Linked DNA regions of Homo sapiens: regions 2, 3 and 4 are each linked to region 1. The links are contacts of gene promoters, found by promoter capture Hi-C in human tissues and cell types (Jung and others, 2019). All regions are on one chromosome and are shown on one strand. Each heading gives the region's core, a stretch centred on a gene start or on the middle of the fragment in contact. The rest is flanking DNA. Distances are from core to core; before and after follow the strand shown. Region 1 holds the start of CDH26 (cadherin 26). Region 2 overlaps SYCP2 (synaptonemal complex protein 2). Region 3 overlaps SYCP2 (synaptonemal complex protein 2). Region 4 overlaps CDH26 (cadherin 26).

Region 1 (5,205 bases), core at 1,899-4,398:
AGATGTCACAGATGGCAATAAGCCAATTCAGGGGGCGGGGATGTAAAGGAATGGAACGGAATGTTACTCATAGCCAATTTGACAATTATTGAGCACCTGCCAGGTGTAAAGCTCTTTAAGAGTTAAAGGTCCAGCATTCTGATTGCTAAAAACTTCTTACATCTATTGAATCATGTTCTCTTCATCTGTCTTGATTCCCTGGAATCTACATAAAGCTGCTGTCATCAATCACTGAAGTACAATCCACAGACCCATTCCCACTGCCCACCCCCACCCAACCACCCTCAGAAGTCAATTAATTTGCTTTGGCACTGCACTAATACGCCAGAGGGAAGAGAATTCAGGTCTGTTTCCTGATCAGACTCATTGTGGGTAGGAGCAGGAGTGAGGGAAGGATGGGGACAGGATTTGATCTGGACTATATTCAAATCCATGCAAACATGGGCTACTAAAAAGGACTTCTGTGAAGTATTGGAGATCAAATTAATGTGCTGTCTGACTAAGGAAACTCGTAACTCTTGATATGGCAAAATGTGACCAAGAAAATTCTCCAAACCTCAAGCAACTGGTACCAAACAAGTTATCCACTTTCAGACAGGGTTTTCCCCCTATTATGTTTATTGGTGTATTCCCAGTGCCTGGCCCAAAGCAGGTATCCAGTAAATAGTTTTAGCATGAGCTCTGAATGAATATTGCCAACCATTTTCACTGTGATTAGAAAAACGGCTGGGTCGTTACTGAACTGTGAACCTAATAGTAGACAGAGGCTCTCTAAGAGAAGATGACGTTTGTCTGGGCAAGGACATATCCATGGGAATATGTGTGCCATGGTAAACGATGTGCAGAGTCAGGGAGGTAAAGGGAGATAAAGGTTTTCAAAGGAAAAAATGAGAAGGATTATATCATTGTTTTGAAATAATTATCTTTGGCTACAAAGATCAATAAGAAGGGTGACACTGGTCTGAGTTTGCACAAAAAGTTGCTGGGAAGATTTCTTCGAAAAAGTATTTTTTGTGTAAGGTTTTAACGGCCTTTGTGCAAAGTTGTTATTTTTGCAGAGCTTTTGTGATAGTTTTAGTTATCAAGCCTACAAATGTGAGAACCCCCTTTTCATAACCTTCTTTGTGTCTATATATCAGGCTTTGTGCCTGTGTGTGTGTGTGTGTGTGTGTGTGTTTTAACATAAGGAACTCCATTCTGATTCTGACAACTTTCGCAGTACCAAGGGCTTTTACGCATTTCCTCATTCACTGGTACAACCACTGGCTCAGATAAATTCAGTTACTAGCTCCATTTTCAGGTGAAGAAAAATAGGCTTAACAAGGTTATGTTAAAACCAGTGCACTGACACCCAGTGCACTCCCAGGTCAGCTCAACCTGAACCTTTGGGGGCAAAACCCAGGCACTGAGATCCCTTGAAGCTCCCTAGGTAAGTTCAACTTGATCCAAGGTAAGGAACAAAGTTAAGCTGGCCTAGGTCCCCAGCGGGCTGTGAAGGAGCCTAGGTCAGGACGCCAAGCAGCCCAGTCCAGAGCTCACAGTTACCAGCCACTGGGCTGCTTCCCACCCTCAGCTGGTATTCAAAGGAAGAAATGATTCCCTCTCCCTACCTACAGAAAGCCAACGAAGCAGATCATAACCAACAAGCGCATGCAACATTACCTCTGTCCACTCTAAGTACAAACAGAGCAAGCCCATGTGTTTCGAATCCTGACTCCACTAGTTTGTATTCCCATTTAAACAGTGGCAGTTGGGGGCAATGGATTTAGCCATTCCATCCCCATGGGTTTGCTCAAATTGCCTTGGATCCAGACAACTGAGATTTCCTCAATCTTATGTAAAGTGTGAACAGAAGTATCATTATAAAACTTGGCAGGGCGCAGTGTCTCAAGCCTGTCATCCTAACACTTTGGGAGGCTGAGGCAGGCAGATCACTTGAGGTCAGGAGTTTGAGACCAGCCTGGCCAACATGGTGAAACCCTGTCTCTAATAAAAATACAAAAACTAGCCGGGCATGGTGGCGTGCACCTGTAGTCCCAGTACTCGGGAGGCTGAGCCAGGAGGTTGCTTGAACCCAGTAGGAGGAGGTTGCGGTGCACTGAGATGTCACCACGCACTGTAGCCTGGATGACGAGACCCTGTCTCAAAAAAAAAAAAAAATTGTGTGTGTTGGCTGGGTGAGGTGGCTCATGCCTGTAAACCCAACACTTCGGAAGGGCAAGGCGAATAAATCACTTGAGCTTAGGAGTTCGAGACCAGCCTGGGCAACATGGTGAAAATCCATCTCTATAAAAAATACAGAAATTAGCCAGCGTGGTGGTAAGTTACTGTAGTCCCAGCTACTCTTGAGGCTGAGGTGGAAGGATCACCTGAGCCTGGGAGGTTAAAGCTGCAGTGAGCCTTGATCATGCCACTGCACTCCAGCCTGGATGATGAAGCCAGACCCTGTCTCAACAAAAGGAGAAAGAAACAAAGAAAGAAAACACGTGTGTGTTGATGTAATCTCACTAAAAATAGTGTGAACTATATAAATTAGTTTTAAACAGGTCCCTTAGCCTGCTCCCACTGTTGCCCCAAACAGACTGGGACCCTTAACTTCCCTTTATATAAATCCAGAGCCCCTGCTACCTAAGCCATTCTCAAGACAGCCAGCCCTGGGTCCCAGCAGGTCACACTCAGTCCCTCTCCCCTCCCTTAGCCTAGAAGGGGCAGGGCCAGCTTGTGCTTTGCTTTCAGTTCCCTGCACCTGAGCACTAGGCTGCAGGCTCAGCTTACCTGCAGCAGCCACAGCAGCAGCACTAGAAGCAGCAGCAGCGAGGGGTGCCTCCCGGATCTCATGGCCATATGGGAATACCCAAGACAGACCCAGAACGTGCAGCTGATGACCAGTCCTCCAAGCTGGTGGTCTCACCGGAGCCACACACCTCCTTCTCAGCCAGCAGCTTCTTCTCTAAAGGTTTTCAGGTCACTTTGGCCCAGATGCTTTCATCCCATCTTGCTCCTCCCTTTTCAGCTTTTCTTGCATTTATCAGAGTGGGGTGGGCTGACTTGTAAGCTTGAACATACGTTTGCCACAAGTAGAGTTCCTAGGAAGGGTGGGGTAGAAACTAAAGCCACCATGGTCCTGCACGTACACAAAAGACTGGCTGGGGTCTGACCTCAGGAACAACAGCTCAGCCAGCGGAAGTAAAACCAGCACCTATCGGAAAGCAGAATTATTTGTTTCTTTGTTTCCTTGTTTGTTCTGGTTTCCAAATAGAAGGTCCAATCATCTCTTTCTATAGCAGGATATGTTAGTGACTATTTTCTATAATCTTATCCTCTTGAACCAAACAAAAAAAACTAGAAAATGACAAGAATGATAACTTTATTAAGGGGGAAGGGATGGGGAAGAATGAAAGAAAAGAAAAATCAACTTTTACTTTCCAAAGCACTAAAAATCGTTATTCCAACAATATCCCAGGGCTCTGGGGTTTTCAAATTATTTCTACTAAAACCTTTTTTAAGCTTAGATTAATCTGCCTTTTTGAGTTTGGAATTAAAGTGGGAGGGAGGAGAGATGGGAAAGAGCCTCCCTATGGACAGGGATCTCTGTGGCAACCCGGGAGTCTTTGCATGAGAATTCTGAAAGAGACAATTTGAGATTATATTATACCAATACTTAAGGTTGCAGTAAGCAAGTTTTAAAACACAATCTGTGATACATTAACCCTGATTACCTTAACATGACCTTTTTATCACATTACCTTGTTTAAAGTAGTAAACAGATAAAATAAAAGGTAAACTTTCTTTGCTTGTTCTAGATATTGGCTTAGGCAAGGATTTCATGACCAAGAACCAAAAAGCAAATGCAATAAAATCAAAGATAAATAGCTGGGACCTAATTAAACTAAAGAGCTTTTGCACTGCAAAAGGAACAGTCAGCAGAGTAAACAGACAACCCACAGAGTGGGAGAAAATCTTCACAATCTATACATCTGACAAAGGATTAATATCCAGAATCCACAATGAACTCCAACAAATCAGTAAGAAAAAAACAATCCCATCAAAAAGTGGGATAAGGACATGAATAGACAATTCTCAAAAGAAGATATACAAATGGTCAACAAGCATATGAAAAAATGCTCAACATCACCAATGATCAGCAAAACGCAAATCAAAACCGCAGTGCGATACCACCTTACTCCTGCAAGAATGACCATAATCAAAAAATCAAAAAACAGTAGACGTTGGTGTGGATGTGACAATCAGGGAACACTTCTACACTGCTGGGGGGAATATAACATAGTACAGCTGCTATGGAAAACAGTGTGGAGATTCCTTAAAGAACAAAAGTAGAACTACCATTTGATCCAGCAATCCCACTACTGGGTATCTTCCCAGAGGAAAAGAAGTCATTATTCGAAAAAGATACTTGCACATGCACGTTTATAGCAGCAAAATTCACAATTGCAAAATCGTGGAACCAACCCAAATGCCCATCAATCAACTAGTGGATAAAGAAAATGTGTATATGCGTATCTATATGTATATATACACATATATGCGTGTATATATGTGTATGTACATATATACACATATATGTGTGTATATATGTGTATGTACATATATACACGCATATATGTATATATACACATATATGTGTATATATGTGTATGTACATATATACACATATATACATACATATATACACACATATATGTATATATATACATACACATATATACACACATATATGTATATATATACATACACATATATATACACATATATATGTATATATATGTGTATATACAGATATATATGATGGAATACTACTCAGCCATAAAAAGGAATGAATTAACAGCATTTGCAGTGACCTGGATGAGATTGGAGACTATTATTCTAAATGAAGTAACTCAGGAATGGAAAATCAAACATTGTATATTCTCACTGATTTGTGGGAGCTAAGCTATGAGGACACAAAGGCATAAGAATCATACAATGGACTTTGGGGAATTGGGGGGAAGAGTGGGAAGAGGGTGAGGGATAAAAGACAACAAATATGGTGCAGTGTATACTGCTTGGGTGATGGGTGCACCAGGATCTCACAAATCTCCACTGAAAAACTTACTCATGTAACCAATATGCCACCTGTACCCCAATAACTTATGGAAAAATAAAATTAAAAAATAAAAATAAAAAAGAACTCATCAAAAATAAAAT
Region 2 (5,205 bases), core at 1-2,500, 62 kb after region 1:
GGTGATCTGCCCTTCTCGGCCTCCCAAAGTGCTGGGATTACAGGCATGAGCCACTGCACCCGGCCCATTTTTTGATTTCTTCGTGGAGCTTTGCCTGATTATTTCAGTTTTTACTAATCTCTCACCTTTACGTAACTATAACTCTCACAGGCACTTCCATATATTTTGGCATGTTTATGTTACTATTTTGTTTTTTAGTCTTTTGTTCTCAATTAAAAGTGTCATTTATTTCCCCGAGATAATTAGCACATGAAAGCTATTTTTGGTGTCTTTATATCAGAATCATGTTGGGTGCTTATTAACAATGCTGATTCTTAGCCCCACCTTAAATCTGTTGAATCTTAAACTCTTGGAAAGGTCTTAAGCACACCAAAGTTCGAAAAACACCATACTACTGTTAAATACCTGTGCTCTGTTTTCAATAAGGATGAACTGTTTGAGGCATTTATATGAATAAGTAACTGTTCAGGTTCCATTCACTATGCCACTAAAAACTTAATTTCTCTAAGAAAAATCTGTTGGCTCAGAAGCTTGTTTTCTAGTTAATCTTAGAATTTTCTTTTATCTTATCCTTTCCATCCTTCCCTCACGTTTCATATACATACCCACTCACAACTGTATCATTTTTTCCCCTGTTCTAGGGACAGGTGCCTTAAAACCAGCTCTTTTATGCCTCTATGCAGTATGTCACCATCTACTTCTTAATATGGCATCCTCTGAAACTCCTGTCTCTTGTAGTCCCTGCCTCTGCTTATCTACTTCTGTCCCTCTTATAAATTAGTGTGAGATGATATGGGAGAAAACAAATCTTTATTGGAACCACTAGATTATGTGCCACTGAATCTATGAATTCCTGCAGCTACTTCACTCCAGTTTAGTCTTCACAGATTATTAGTACAATTTTCAAAAATGTGTGAATGTTTTGAAGAAAGCTTAACATGAAAGCACTCAAAATAATTTCATATAAATATGTAATCCAAACATTATCCTCATGATATAGAATAGGAAATTGCAAGCTATGGTTAACTAGATAAACTCAATATTGATAAAATATTTTCAGCTAGCATATAAAGGTACTGTACTTCATAGGCATGGATATTCTATAAATATTCTTTAAAACAATGTTCCTTACTTGTTTTAGCTACTTATTTAATACCAAACATGAAGATGAACCTTTCATATCAGCCTAAAACATGGAAATTTATGAATATTGTGTTGTTTATTTAAAAAACATATATCTTTGGCATGTATCAAGGCAAAATGTTATAAGTAAAATTGTAGGATATTTAATTTCAAAAAGACTGTGTTTACAGTGGTTGTTTTTCATCGTGGTTTCAGAAAACTACTCCTAGCAAAAGAAAAATGTCTGAAGCATCAATGATTGTTTCTGGTGCAGATAGATACACTATGAGAAGTCCAGTGCTTTTCAGCAACACATGTAAGTTTTATAGTTTTAAAAGATTTCTAACAATTATTTTAAAGGAGGCATTTTTTAATTTAAGGCAATTCTGAACATAATTTACATAAAGGATAAGTTTGGTGTATAAAAATTGATAAAATATGAACCACAAATGTCTTCTAATGGGAAGAAAAGTATAATGCTAACATATGAACAGAACAGTGTTGAAAATACTAATATTCGACATTAATAATTTATTATAATTTAAGCAGGACACAGCATATCTTACTGGTTAAAACACTGAATTAACCAGGCCAGGTGGACTTAGCTCCCCACTTCCAGCTGTGTACTTTGTACAGATATCCTCTAGCTAAATTTAGAACCAGTTTTTTTTTCTATAAGTGGCACTTAAGTATCTATCTTATCAAGTTGTTTAGAGGATTAAATAAAAATCACTCATTTAATAAGTTACCTAGTGAAACTTTAAACAGTGCCTGATACATACTAAGAGCTAAATAAAAGTTTTAAAAAACCTGATACTGTGTACTAGTTAAAGTCTTAGTCTATATGACAACTTAACATTGACCTTCTGTTCTAAAAATCTTGTTGCCTACTGGCCAATTGCTTAGTATCTGACAGGCTCCCCAAATGTAATAGGTCCAAAATTAAATTAATCTTTCCACCCTTCCTGCAAATTTTTCCTTCACTTATTATCTTGGTAGATGGCATCTATATTCACTTAATTATCTAAGCCAGAAACCTGGGAACCATCTAAGAATGTTCGTTTCTTACCTTTCTCATTGGAAAAGTACCTCAATAATAGCAATAGGTAAAAAAAGAAAAATCTGCAATCCTTGTCCTCCTTTTTAGCAATACCACCACGAAGAAGAAGAATTAAACCACCACTGCAAATGACGAGCTCTGCAGAGAAACCTAGTGTTTCTCAAACATCAGAAAATAGAGTGGATAATGCTGCATCACTGAAATCTAGATCATCAGAAGGAAGACATAGAAGAGATAATATAGACAAAGTAACTTTACCTTGAAAGTATTTTAAAAATATTTTTTCAAGTAATTGTGGAAATATGTATTGAGCTAACTCCTTTTGCAAGCTGCAAGTGTCTCATTTTGTTTAAAGCATTACCTTTTTTCCCCTAAATATTTATTGCCCTTGAAAGTAGGGTCCTTCTGGCATATGACTCATTTACTGTGCTTACAATAAAAGTTATGAATATTAATTCACTATAACTTGATTTACACATTTGGGAGCATAAATGAACCTGCCATAATTATTTAGTTGATTATACAAATTGGTGACTACTATGGGGAAGACTCTGGTATAGGAATGCGAAGTACAAGTGGACTGTGTCCTTAAGTTTCTCAAAATTTAGCATGAAAATTAGATACTAAGTTACATAAGCATTCTCAGATTTACACATATAGGATGCAGTAGGAACCAAGTTAGAGGGTCAAGTGCCTAACCCCATAGCTAGAGGTGAGGGTGAAGATCAGGAGATGCTTTTTAAGAAAATATGGAGAATGAATTGACTTTTGAAAGGTCAATAAAGAGTCAAATGGATATTGAGGAGAAGGGCATTTGTTCCAGGTAGTTGAAAAGACAAAGCAGGAATGGATAAGAGAGAATAGTTTCTTGGAGAAACAGGAGGTGATCAGCGATGCAGATAAGCTTGTAAAGGAGGAACATCTAATAGCTTTTGTTTTTTCTGAAGTGTGAAGATGGTGAGTTTCTCCTGGAGATCTGTTGAAGTACAGGGTTCAGGGACATGTAAAGCTATGTGCAAGGTAATGGAGAGGCCTAAGAATAAGTGTTAGACAATGTTGACCCAGTTTAAATATGACTATGAATTTTATAGCATAAATATGTTCATAAATATGTACAATTTTCTCAAAGCTTAGTAGTCTTGGTGTTAATAGTAAGATGAGAACAGATGATGGATTCTATTTTTTTAATTTAAATGGGTATGTGGTAGAAAGATAAAGGGTATGAGAGTTGAAGATATTAAAAGAAAATAGTCAAAGTAATGGTTCAAGTTGTCTAAGTGTTTCTTAATAAGGGGATTATTTTTCAGTTGTGCGACATGGTCCTAAATGTTGTAGGATGATAAGCATCCTAGCTAGGATTGTGCTTACCTATTGTCAGGAGAACCCCTCTGTCATTGTGACAACCCAAACCACACCTGCATATTTCCATAATGTTCCCCTCCTAGTGTGGAGAATCACTGGCTAGAGTAAGAAGGAAAGGCAGCCAGGATGAGGCAAAATAGCTTAGACTAAAGGGAATATTTTTCTGATAATAGTGGCAGATTTGTATTTGATCTGGATTAAGTGTTATCTTTGGCTATGGAAATAGGGAAGCTTGCTGTAGGAAAGAAGTTACCTGGGTAATGCAATAGATATTGTTATAAATAAAAAACTTAGCTAAACAAAAATCGTCCTCTTCGATATCTGATGATAATTCTGAAGAAACAGGAAAAGTGAAATATAAGAAAGAAAGAATGGACCATATCAAAATAGATAAAGCAGGCTATGTAATCAACAGCAGCAGGAGAGATTCCTCATGGAGAGTCTAGAAATTGTCAGTTACAGATGAAAACTGAATTATTATGCTAGCTATGGATGTGATCAGAAAATTTATGCAATATTCTGCCTCGTCTGCAGTGACAGTTTTCTTCTTGTGTTTCAGGATAGGGAATATTCAAAAACGGGCATAACGTTTATGAAATATATAAAAATAGTATCCAACTTTTCATATCAAGGCAGATTTGTTTTAAAAGACTCAAACCTTAATACTGTAACATTTAGGTTTTCATATAACATCTTAAGTTTACGTTAACCTGTTTCCTGTGTTTACAGCATATCAAAACTGCTAAGTGTGTAGAAAACACAGAAAATAAGAATGTTGAATTCCCAAACCAAAATTTTAGTAAGTACCTTGTGGTTTAATTTAGTCATTTTTTTAAGAAAATGTATATACTTCTCCCTGTATTACCATTTAACCCCACTGGCTTTCATTGATTTGAAAAAGATTTACAAAGAATTTGTTTGACTTTGTGCAAGGAATTTTTGAGGTTACAAGGAAATATACCACCTTTGTTCCCCAGAAGTTTGGGTTTAAGAGAGAGGATGCAAAATCGATCAATCCGTTCATCCCAATATGTGAACCTTTATAGATTTCTATACTAACCTCCCTATCCCCCTGCCAACTGCATGAAAAAAATGAAAATATTATAATATTTGTTTTATTTAGGTGAACTCCAGGATGTTATACCAGATTCACAGGCAGCGGAAAAAAGAGATCATACTATGTAAGTATGAGAAAACCATCAAATCATTTAGTCTATACTAATGCTGTTTTCAGTGAATGTAACAGATTTGGAGGAAAAGGACTGTATATGATTAGAATTAGTATTAATCATCTCTCAAGTGTTATGACAGCACAATGGGGAATTATGTATATGGTTTTTTCCCCATGTGGTCCAATATAACTCTTTTCAAGTGGAGAGACTTAAAATGAATGAGATTTTTAAAATGTATAAACAATGAATGTGTAGAAATATAACAATATGTAGAAATTAATTAATGTGTAGAAATATAAATATACAGTAGAACTGTAAGATAAGATAAATTTCCACATAATTTTCACATAAGTAATCGCTTTCAGTAAACGTTGACTACATTAAAAATCAAGGTCTTAAAGTCACAGGCTAATGTTTTGTAACATTAAGCAAATTAATTTATTTTCTAGATTACCTGGTGTTTTAGACAACATCTGTGGAAATAAAATA
Region 3 (5,205 bases), core at 837-3,336, 44 kb after region 1:
CAATTAAATTGACAATTTATTTCATGTAGGACAAAATTACTTAGCTTGGAGTATATTTCTATCATAATCTATTGCCTGACATATTTCCGAAATACTTACTGAAAATTTATAACCATATGGGTTTATGTGTGCATATAGCTCAAGTGGAAATAAATTATACCAACCAGATTTTTGGGGTGCTTAAGTATTTAAATGCTAAAAATAATCTGTATTAGTATATGTATGTGTGTACATGTACTATAATCATAAGAACAAAATAAAGTAACATTTTTTGGCTTCCTCAGATCTTATAATGGAGTTAAAATAAATACAAGTTTTATTGCAAAAAGTACAAGTGCTTTAAGTATCGGAGTCATGTTATATTCTATTTTTGATATTCTATAGTTTATGTTGTTTTTATATTCATTATTTTATACTTTATTATTTTTATTTTTTTGAGAGAGTCTTGCTCTATCTGCCTAGGCTGGAGTGCAGTGGCGCAATCTCAGCTCACTGCAACCTCTGCCTCCCAGGTTCAAGCGCTTCTCCTGCCTCCCTTCCGAGTAGCTGGGATTACAGGCACGTGTTACCATGCCCAGCTAATTTTTGTATTTTTGGTAGAGACGGGGTTTCACTATGTTGGCCAGGCTGATCTCGAACTCCTGACATCAAGTGATCCGCCCGCCTTGGCCTCCCAAAGTGCTGGTATTATAGTGAGCCACCATGCCTGGCCTATTTTATACTTTATATATTCTTTCCTCCATCCTACTCCATTCCCATAATAAAACTCAGTGATTAAGAAAAAATTAGGCTTCTAAGTTTATGTGCCTAGAATATTTCTCTTAATAGTGTTTCACTGAATGTAAAGTTAATGCATTATCTTTTTTTCTTTTCTAGATTATAAAAAAAATGAATGCTATGCTTGACAAAATGCCTCAAGATGCCCGGAAAATACTCTCTAACCAAGAAATGTTAATTCTCATGTAATAATCTGTACTTATATGGTTTTTATTCTTAAAATCCATAAGAATGTTTTATAAGACAGACAACTATGAGTTTGCATTAATAATGAAACTGATAAACTGTTGCAGCTTTTTAATATAATTTAGTGTATGCATATAATTTCTGCAAAAGTCGATGATATTAGCCAATTGTAAATTTTTGTGAAGTTTCTTTTCCTCCTAAACATGTGGACTTCCTATTTAATTGATACTGGTCTATTTTGTAATCTGTTATTTTAATTCACAGGAGTAGTATGGGAGAAAGGATTTTAGATGCTGGAGGTAAGTATGTCTTTTCCAAATCTAAAATTATTCCATATTTATGAATAGCAGATAGTATCTTTTTAATTTAAATATTAGCATAGCAATGTGAGACTGAGGGAATTATAAACATTATGTACAATTAAGCAATTTTTAATAAATATACATGAAATTTGTCTGGGACAAAAATAATTTATGACAGTAGGCGTTAGATACATACAATTTGTGCCTAATGGTAGACTTATGAATAATATAGCTTAATAGCTTAAATTAATAGCTTAATTTAATAGCTTAATATAATAGCTTAATTAATAAAGCTTAAATTAATAGATTAATATAATAGCTTAATATAATGGCTTAATTTTTCAGTAGACCTGAACTACTTGTGCTAAGAAATTCCTCAGATTTTTTTATGAAATTAGGGTGTCTAATATTCTTCATATTGATGGATTTGTTTTTAAACAATGTGTTTATTAAAATAACTTAAAATTTATTTTCTAAGCTTTTTGTGAATGAATTTTAATATGGTGATTTACATGTAGAATAAATCATGGTTTAAAGTACTCTGGGATAACTGTAAACATGTTACACAAGAGGAAAACAGACTTTGTAACTTACAGACAACTGTGTGGGTTACTTTGCATTTTATATCTCTAATAATAATGAAATGGCAGTGTCTTTGAATATTTAGAAGTCTCAACATTTTTTTAAATTTTACTTATTTCTTCTGTTGGCACACTTGTTATTTGGGCTGTGTTAATTCCTCAAATGATGAGATATTTCTAATCCATATGAAGAAAATATTAATAGATTAATCAATTACATTAATATATTCTTATTTCTCTTGCTTATTCTAATACCTTGTAAAATATATGGTCTTTTATAAACTTAATTTTCATAATTGTAAATCAAACATTAACTATTTTTTTAATAGATTATGACTTACAGGTAGGCATTGTAGAAGCTTTGTGTAGAATGACCACAGAAAAACAAAGACAAGAACTGGCACATCAGTGGTTTTCAATGGATTTTATTGCTAAGGCATTTAAAAGAATTAAGGACTCTGAATTTGAAACAGTAAGTTGTATAACAATAACAGAAATTCGTGAATTTTTAAAAATTATTATGATTTTTAAAAGTATTTCTCTTTAAAATTAGGATTGCAGGATATTTCTCAACCTTGTAAATGGCATGCTTGGAGACAAAAGAAGGTAAACTTAATGCAAGATACAACCATTTACTGTCAAATAAATAGAGCTCAAGAGTGAGCACCCAGTGTTGCATCTTTATACATTTAACTTTATTCTTGTTCTCTACACTATGTTGGAGTGTAGAATGTGCATAGATAATTTAAAACAATAACATGATTTTAGCAAATTACTACACCAGTAATCTGAAATAATTCTGCACTGGCCTTGTTTTATTTTGTACTTTTTAGAGGGAAAAGTTCATTTCTGTTTAATTCATATTAATTAATAACTTTAGATGTTCAAAATTGGCTTACTATACTTCTGAGTTGCATATCCATTATTATTTAATGTTTGAGGGATAATAAAAATCTAGACATATTTATTACTTGAATCATCTCCTTCATCCACATACTGGAATGTAAATATATAGCAAACAAATCATCTTCCTTTATAATTAACATACAGTAAGTAGGATCTTTCTGAGGGGCATGAAAGGATGTGTAATATAAATTTTAATCTTTTTTTTATAACGACAGAAAAACAGAATTTGCAATGCCTAGCACCTCATAGATGTTCAACATAATTATTGGATGAATGAGTTCACATTTATTTTACTTACTAAAGAAATTAACGGTATTGTAAGGGTTGTGCAAGGAGTCATATTACCTGATTTGAATCATAAGTTCCTCTCTTCCTGTTCTAATATTGGGCAAATTATTTAACCTTACATGCCTCAGTTTCCTTAGCTGTTATATTAATAACTACCTCATATGTTTGTGATATAGATTAAAATGAGATAATATGCTAACTATGTAAAATAGTATCTAAGAAAGAATTCTGTGAATTTAACCATTTTTAATGTAATTATTCACTTGTATTCTTATTTAAGTTCTATGGAAACAATAAGCTAAGTTAGGAAACTCTGCTCATATTTGATAGCACACTGTATTAGTCTGTTTTAATACTGCTGATAAAGACATACTGGAGACTGAGACATTTAAAAAAGAAAGAGATTTAATTGGACTTAAAGTTCCATGTGGCTGGGGAAGCCTCACTATCATGGCAGAAGGCAAGGAGGAGCAAGTCCCATCTTACGTGGATAGCAGCAGGCAAAGAAAGAATGAGGAAGATGCAAAAGGGGAAACCCCTGATAAAACCATCAGATCTCGTGAGAGTTACTCACTACCGCAAGAACAGTGTGGGAGAAACTGCCCTCATGATTCTGTTATCTCCTACCAGGTCCCTCACACAACACATGGGAATTATGACAGTACCATTCAAGACGAGATTTGGGTGGGGACACAGAACCAAACCATATCACACACAAAAACATTTGGTGCAATCATTTTAGTCAGAATGGTAGATTGAGTAGTATTGTCAAAGTAATATGATTTTCTCTACATAAATGTCCACTAAACATGTATTTTGAAAAGTATTAAAGAGGGAAATATGATTTTATTTCAATTATTATGACCACTGCCTGATTTCCTTTTGATTCTAGGCATGATTTCTATTACTGGACAAGATTATGCTGTGAAAGCTTATTTATTTTTTTCTTAAACTACTTTTTATTTCAGGGTCTTTACATTTCCTTGTTTATCAGCATTTCTTGATAAATATGAGGTAAAATTTTAATTTAACACATTATTTTAGTTATTGCATGAATTTTGATAGTCAAGTGAATTATGAGTTAAAAATGAATAAGAACACTAAAAATAGTTGTAATTAGATCATGAATGTAGCTGGTCTAGTATTCTGTATCTGACAGTGAAACCAGGAGAAGTTTTATGGAACAGCATATTCATTGCCAAGAATAACTGAAAAATAAAGGCTGTAGTCCAGTTTTTCTCGTGTTTCCTTAAGACCATTATTGATTTATCATGTATGAATCTATTCAAACTAGTACTTTCAACCTTTATTAGCACTTGGAATATTCATAATTTCTTGGAGCTAGTTGATTTTTTATAAAATATTAAAGTAGCATTTCATTTGATTGTTTTTAAATTTATCTAAATATTATACTTGTCTGTTCTTTCTCTTCTCTCTCCTTCTAGCTTTGTTTTCTTGCTTTAGCCATGAATATAACATCATAATTGTCTGTTATTTCTAAAATCATTGTATATTCCAGTTTTGTATGTTTATTTTATTAGCTGCAAATACCATCAGATGAAAAACTTGAGGAATTTTGGATTGATTTTAATCTTGGGAGTCAGACTCTCTCATTCTACATTGCTGGAGATAATGATGTAAGTTTAATTTGGTTGGTATTATTCTTTATGTATATGCATATATAAGATTTTTACTTACTTTAAGAATGTGGATTTCTTTATATGTTCTAGCCAGTCTTTACCTAGATTTTAATATTAGCTCTAGTAGTTTGATTAGCATAGCAACCTACCAAGCTAATTATAAATGAAAACTACTTCTGATGTTTTATTGTATAAGAAAAAATAATGCTGAGTTTTAATGCTCATTTTTTAACATAAGCTTTTAAAAAATAAATGTTAATTTATGACAGTTAAAATTTTGTATTCACATAAACAAAGTGAATTGACTTTAGAAAAGGGAAGTTACTCAAATACAGTGGCATTCTATTGAAAATATTAACAGACAGTGACAAGTGGACCTAACTTAATCATTCATAAAACCTTCTCTTTGGAAATAGGACTTGAGTGGGAGTTAATTTTAGTTTTTTTCTTCCTATGCTTTATCATAGCTGTGCTCAGATCTTCCAAATAGGTGGCATATTTTCTGCTGACCTGCATATTTTTTAC
Region 4 (5,205 bases), core at 1,223-3,722, 35 kb before region 1:
GCCCTGCACGGGCCAAGCTCTGTATGAAAGTAAGCCAACTGCAGAGTTAGAGGGAGGGGTCCTCAAGGGTACCCTCACTTCTGACATCAACTGCAAGTTCACGGATTCCTAAGACCACCCTCAGGTTCAACAATTCTCTAGAAAGACTCACAGAACACACTGAAAGTTGTTACAGTGATGGTGCCGTTTTTTACAGGGAAAAGATACAGACGTAAATCACACAAGGAAAGAGGCACCTAGGGCAGAGTCCAGAAAAGCACCAGTAGCAGAGCTTCTCATCATCCACTCCCGAGAAGCCAGGTCAGCATCGATGAGGGACAGCACACATGGGATGCTGCAGTCAGGGACGTTCACCTGAGCCTCAGGCTCCAGTGTCCTCCTGGGGCTTGGTCAGGCAACCTGGTGGGCCTCCCAGGTGGGCGGCCTCAGTCTCCAGCCTCTCTGGTAATAGACTGATACTATGTGACCAGAAGTCCCCAGTGTAAATCACATTGCCCCTATCCGGCTCAGCCCAAGACACCCCAGGTAAAGAGACACTGGTGTCAGACATGATACCCCAATAGAGATCACCCAGACCCCAAGGACAAAGACCAGACCTCTCTTTGGGCAAGGCGAAGTGCTTTACCACACACTCCAGGTCTGAGAACTACAAACTTGAGCACACAGTTTCAGCTGAAACCGTGCCACAGTCTACAGACGCCACGGCTAGAGGCACAGAAGAGAGTGTTGACAGTGGATGCCAGTTGCTTTTAACCTGCTCAGCATGTTCATCTTCTGGTAACAGTGCCCCAGTGTTTCCTTAGGGAAGCCCACACTTCCTGAATTCTCAGTATGAATCAGGAGAGGGTGAGCCCAGATCCCAACAAGGTCCAGGTGTGGGCTGGGAACCAGCCAATCAGCACATCCGCCCTCCCAAGTCCCACCCACAGTGATTGACAGGGCAGCTGACCCAGGCCAAACAGTGACGTCAATCCTGGAGCTTCCCTGGAAACACCCTTCTTGCCAGATGCAAGAATATGTCTCAGGGACTCCCAGCAGCCTCCTACCCCCTGATGAGGAGAGTTTCCTAAAAAAGAAGGAACCTAGAGAAAGGCAGACCATGTGTGGGAAGGATATCCAGGGATATCCTTTGAGCACCTAGAGCCAGCTCTGCCAGAACGCAGACCTCTCCGGTTTTTTAAGCTAATAAAGTCCTTTTTTGCCTAAATCTGTTTGAATTGGATATCTGGCATTTTCCACTCTTTGCCCGTAACCAATACAAAAACTCACCCCAATTTCTCCCCAACTTCCATGTGTCCTCCGCATTTCCCCAGGTATTGTCCAATTCAAATGTAAATGGGTCAGAGAACGGCTCCAGGTCCGGATCCTCTGCCTCGATGTGGAGGGGCTCATGCACAGCAGACTCACAGACCTCCATGTAGCGGGAACGTGGCCGGAGAGTCGGGACGTTGTCATTGATGTCAGACAGGAAGAGCATTAGGGTCCCTGTAGCAGTCTGCGGTGGGAAGCCTTGTATGGGGAGGAAGTTTCAGGAGTTGTTTATCTCGTGCACACACAGCTCTGGAGAATGAGCACTCTCCGTCTCTCAGAAAAAAAATATTCCTGAAATACTGGAACTGTTTCCCTTTCAACGTCATAAGCTCTCCTGGCATGCACGTGATCTGTTTTCCTGCTTTTATGAGCATTCAGAATATTTGGGTAAGCTAATAAAGCACTTACCACCTCAAATCACTTGTAGAACAAGGTAGAATGTGGCTTCATTAAAAAAACAAAAGGTCAATCAATGGTGCCAGGCATCAAGGATGGGTGGGGTGGAGGAAAATGGGTGTGACTAAAGAAGGGCACCATGGGGGTCCCCAAGGGGAGGCAAATGCGCTGCGTCTCCGCGTTGATGTACTGGTTACAAGGTTACACTGTAGTCCTGCAAGGTGTTGCCCCTGGGGAAAACTGGCAAAGGATACTCAGGATCCACTAGATTATTTCTTAAAACTGCAAGTGAATCTACAATTATCTAAAACGACTTTTTCTAATTCAAAAAAGTGGCAATCATCACTTCATAACTGCAAATATATGGAGCCAACCTAAATGCCCATCGACCAATGAGTGGATAAAGAAAATGTGGCATATGTATACTATGGAATACTACTCAGCCATAAAAAAGAATGAAATCATGTTTTTTTGCAGACACTTGAATAGAGCTGGAGGCCATTCTTCTAAGTGAATAACTCAGGAATAGAAAATCAAATACTGTATGTTCTCACTTATAAGTGGGAGCTAAGCTATGGATACACAAAGGCATGAGTGATATCATGAACTCTGGAGACCCAGAAGCAGGGGAGGAGGGAGCCAAGGGCTAAGAAATCTCACATTGGATACAAGGTACTCTACTCAGGTGACCAGTGCACTAAAATCTTAGACTTCACCACTGCATAATTCATCTACGTAACCAAAAACCACTTGTACCCCAAAAGCTTTTGAAATACAAAAAGCAAAAAATAAAGGAAAAAAAAAGTACCAATCATAAAATCATCCATAACAGAATGACGGAACCCTGAAACACTGGCCCCATTTTTTCTCCTCCCTTAATGCTGATTAGGAACACGTGTTTCATATCTCCATTGCCCCCCGCCAACATTCCACTAGTTAATTACAGAATGGAACGTATAGTGATATATCACTTGGAGCTTGGGTTTTAGTTCACAGACTTTCTTAAATACAATTTTAAAGTTATTTGAACATTTTTATTTCTTCAACTCTGCTTTGGTGTGTTTAAAGTTTCAGCCTTAGGAGAGTGTAGAGAAAAATGCTGAAACAGGCTTATAAAACCACCCATTCTGGTTTATGACAAATGTGTCCCTTACAGTCCCATTTATCTGAGCTCGTATGCCATCCCAAGCACAGGGAAGCTGTGCTAAATATTTATCACACATCATTGGCTTTGACAAAGAGCTAAAGAGTTAGCTCATGAACAGATGAAAAAGATGCTGGGTTTGATTGCAGCCTCCTTGCTGGTTTAATTGTCTCTTCTGAATGAATACTGCCCTCTTTCGATGGTATTGGTCCCTTGTTTACCATTTTAAGAATTATTACCAAAAATAATCACCAGCATGGATGCAGAGTGATAACAAGGTTTATTTTATCCTTTTCTCTGCTGTGCTGAAAGACGCTCACCAGGGTTATTTTCCCGCAGGAAGCAAGAATGAGCATTTTATTTTTCCAATTTTGGGTAAACACTCACCATCATCAACAGCGTGAATGATGATTACATAAAAACTGTTATTTACATGAGGGGATTCTCGGTCAATTGGCTCCACGGTGATGACCACTCCGGAGTTTTTGTCGACGCTGACCCAATTTGCTGGGTCATGAACCAGTTCATATCTTGTAGAAGGAAAACGGACAGCAATTTTTAAAATTAAAAACTTACATTAAAAGATAAAAAAGTTGCATAAAAAAACAAAATATGTCATAGAAACACTATTTCTACCACAAGTAATTTGAGAAATTCTAAGAGCAATTAAACTACGAGAGTGTTTAATTCACGAAAGGAATGGAAGCACAGGGAGGACAGCCTAAAGACTCTCCTAGGTCTGTGGAATTGACATTCACCAGAAGACCAAGCGTCCCCCTCCTTGTTGGACTGAACATAGTTTTGTCTGCCTTGGGGAGATGATTCATCCTGGAAAGGAACCCATCTTCAGTGGCCTGTAGATGATGTTAGCTTAGTGTGAAAAACCAACCTGCCCTTGCAACAGAAACCTAGGACTTTACCCCTGGTGTGTTCCCTTTGCAGCAGAGCCCTGGCAGTTCACAGTTGGGTAACCCTATTCCTCAAAGTGGTCTTCTACATCCCCCTCACCTATGTGAACCTGACACCACTGTAAGGGGTGGGCCACGCCAAGCCCTCCAGCATTCCTGAGAGCTGTCAGCCATTGGATTGCATCCTTTGCAACCTTGCCAGGTTGCCACCCCAGCTACCTGTTGAGGGCACCGCAGCAGGAACCTCCTGGACTCAGGCAAACAACAACAACAACAAAAAGTGCAGGTCCCAGAAAGGTGCGGAGAGGGGCAGTTTCTCCTTATGCTTTTCCTTCATCTTCTGGGCAAATGTTTTTCAAAGGGTCAGCAAGGATCCCTCTCTCATGTTGCGTGGGTCACAGTTTTTAAAGGGATTGAAGCTTTTTGTGCACTGCTTCACCTCTTAGGGAAAGTTCCAGAAGTTCCTTAGAAGCACTGTGATTTTGCAATGTTTACAAACGAGGGGAAGAAACTCAGAGTTCCTCTGTGGATTATCTCAGGCCAAAAGGCAGCTCCCTCAGCTAATGCAGATGAAGCAGAACTAGAGGAAACCAAAGCTGCCCCCAACCCAGATCATGCCTCCACCCTGTCACAAAAGACACTCATCCTGCCTCCTGGAAAAAGCCATATTGAGGCTAAAATGATGGACTGTTAGTTCTTGATTTCAGCACAGTCCAAACATTTCCTGAGACCTAAGTATGAGCCAACCATCCTCAAGAGACAGGAAGACAGCAATGAATTAGGAAAGGCTCCTGTTGGTGGTGCCTAAAGGGATCCCCAGCCAGCATCATGGGCACCCTTGGGAGCTTCTTAGAAATGCAAATCTCAGTCCTGACCCCAGACCTCTCAATCAAATTCTATGGGTGGGTTGGAAACCAGCCTGGCCAACATGGCAAAACCCCGTCTCTACTAAAATTACAAAAATTAGCCAGACGTGGCAGCATGTGCCTGTAGTCCCAGCTACTCAGGAGGCTGAGGCAGGAGAATCACAAGAACCTGGGAGGTGGAGGTTGCAGTGAGTCAAGATTATGCCACTGCACTCCAGCGTGGGTGAAAGAGAGAGACTCCATCTCAAAAAAAAGAAAAAAAAAAAAGAAAAGAAATTGTAGGGGTGGGGCCCAGCAATCTGCATTTTAACAAGTTCCCCCAGAGACTGATACACACTATAGTTTGACAGCTACTTCTTAAGAGCCTTGCTAACTCAAGGTGCACCACTGTGCACCAGAAGGGGTCTGTGAGCTGTTGGTTGGCTGCTCACAATGAGATAACTGCAAAAATGAAGAGCAAGTGTTGAGAAGCCCTTAGAGTCATCAGCATTGTCATGTCCACCTAGTGCATGAAAATTTTTCTAGTAATTCCATTTCATTATATTTTGCAAACTTATCACTCCATAATGAATTGTAAATT

What was found. Contacts are between HindIII fragments. The study calls those that stand out against the background at their distance.
Region 2: a fragment that was not itself captured here is called in contact with the fragment with the promoter of CDH26 in region 1 in 1 of the 25 tissues and cell types used here (stomach).
Region 3: a contact is called between a fragment that was not itself captured here and the fragment with the promoter of CDH26 in region 1, in 2 of the 25 tissues and cell types used here (IMR-90 fibroblasts and lymphoblastoid cells).
Region 4: a contact is called between a fragment that was not itself captured here and the fragment with the promoter of CDH26 in region 1, in 1 of the 25 tissues and cell types used here (pancreas).

The regions. Positions count from the first base shown.
Region 1 is chr20:59,956,366-59,961,570 of GRCh38, reverse strand. It overlaps CDH26 (cadherin 26), which reads right to left and starts at 3,148. Exons shown (of 18, transcript NM_177980.4): 1 at 2,776-3,148. The coding sequence starts at 2,844. The HindIII fragment of the contact is 5,804 bases long and covers 400-5,205 here.
Region 2 is chr20:59,892,662-59,897,866 of GRCh38, reverse strand. It overlaps SYCP2 (synaptonemal complex protein 2), which reads left to right. Exons shown (of 45, transcript NM_014258.4): 19 at 1,339-1,438; 20 at 2,270-2,430; 21 at 4,274-4,343; 22 at 4,668-4,725; 23 at 5,166-5,205. Among named protein-coding and RNA genes, the nearest start is that of SYCP2, 38 kb to the left of the region's middle. The HindIII fragment of the contact is 4,586 bases long and covers 1-3,543 here.
Region 3 is chr20:59,911,222-59,916,426 of GRCh38, reverse strand. SYCP2 (synaptonemal complex protein 2) reads left to right here. Exons shown (of 45, transcript NM_014258.4): 9 at 877-962; 10 at 1,228-1,262; 11 at 2,176-2,318; 12 at 2,400-2,452; 13 at 4,009-4,054; 14 at 4,582-4,677. Among named protein-coding and RNA genes, the nearest start is that of SYCP2, 20 kb to the left of the region's middle. The HindIII fragment of the contact is 4,718 bases long and covers 1-4,445 here.
Region 4 is chr20:59,990,554-59,995,758 of GRCh38, reverse strand. CDH26 (cadherin 26) reads right to left here. Exons shown (of 18, transcript NM_177980.4): 10 at 3,239-3,381; 11 at 1,270-1,509. Among named protein-coding and RNA genes, the nearest start is that of CDH26, 35 kb to the right of the region's middle. RefSeq lists an enhancer at 995-1,527. The HindIII fragment of the contact is 6,002 bases long and covers 1-5,205 here.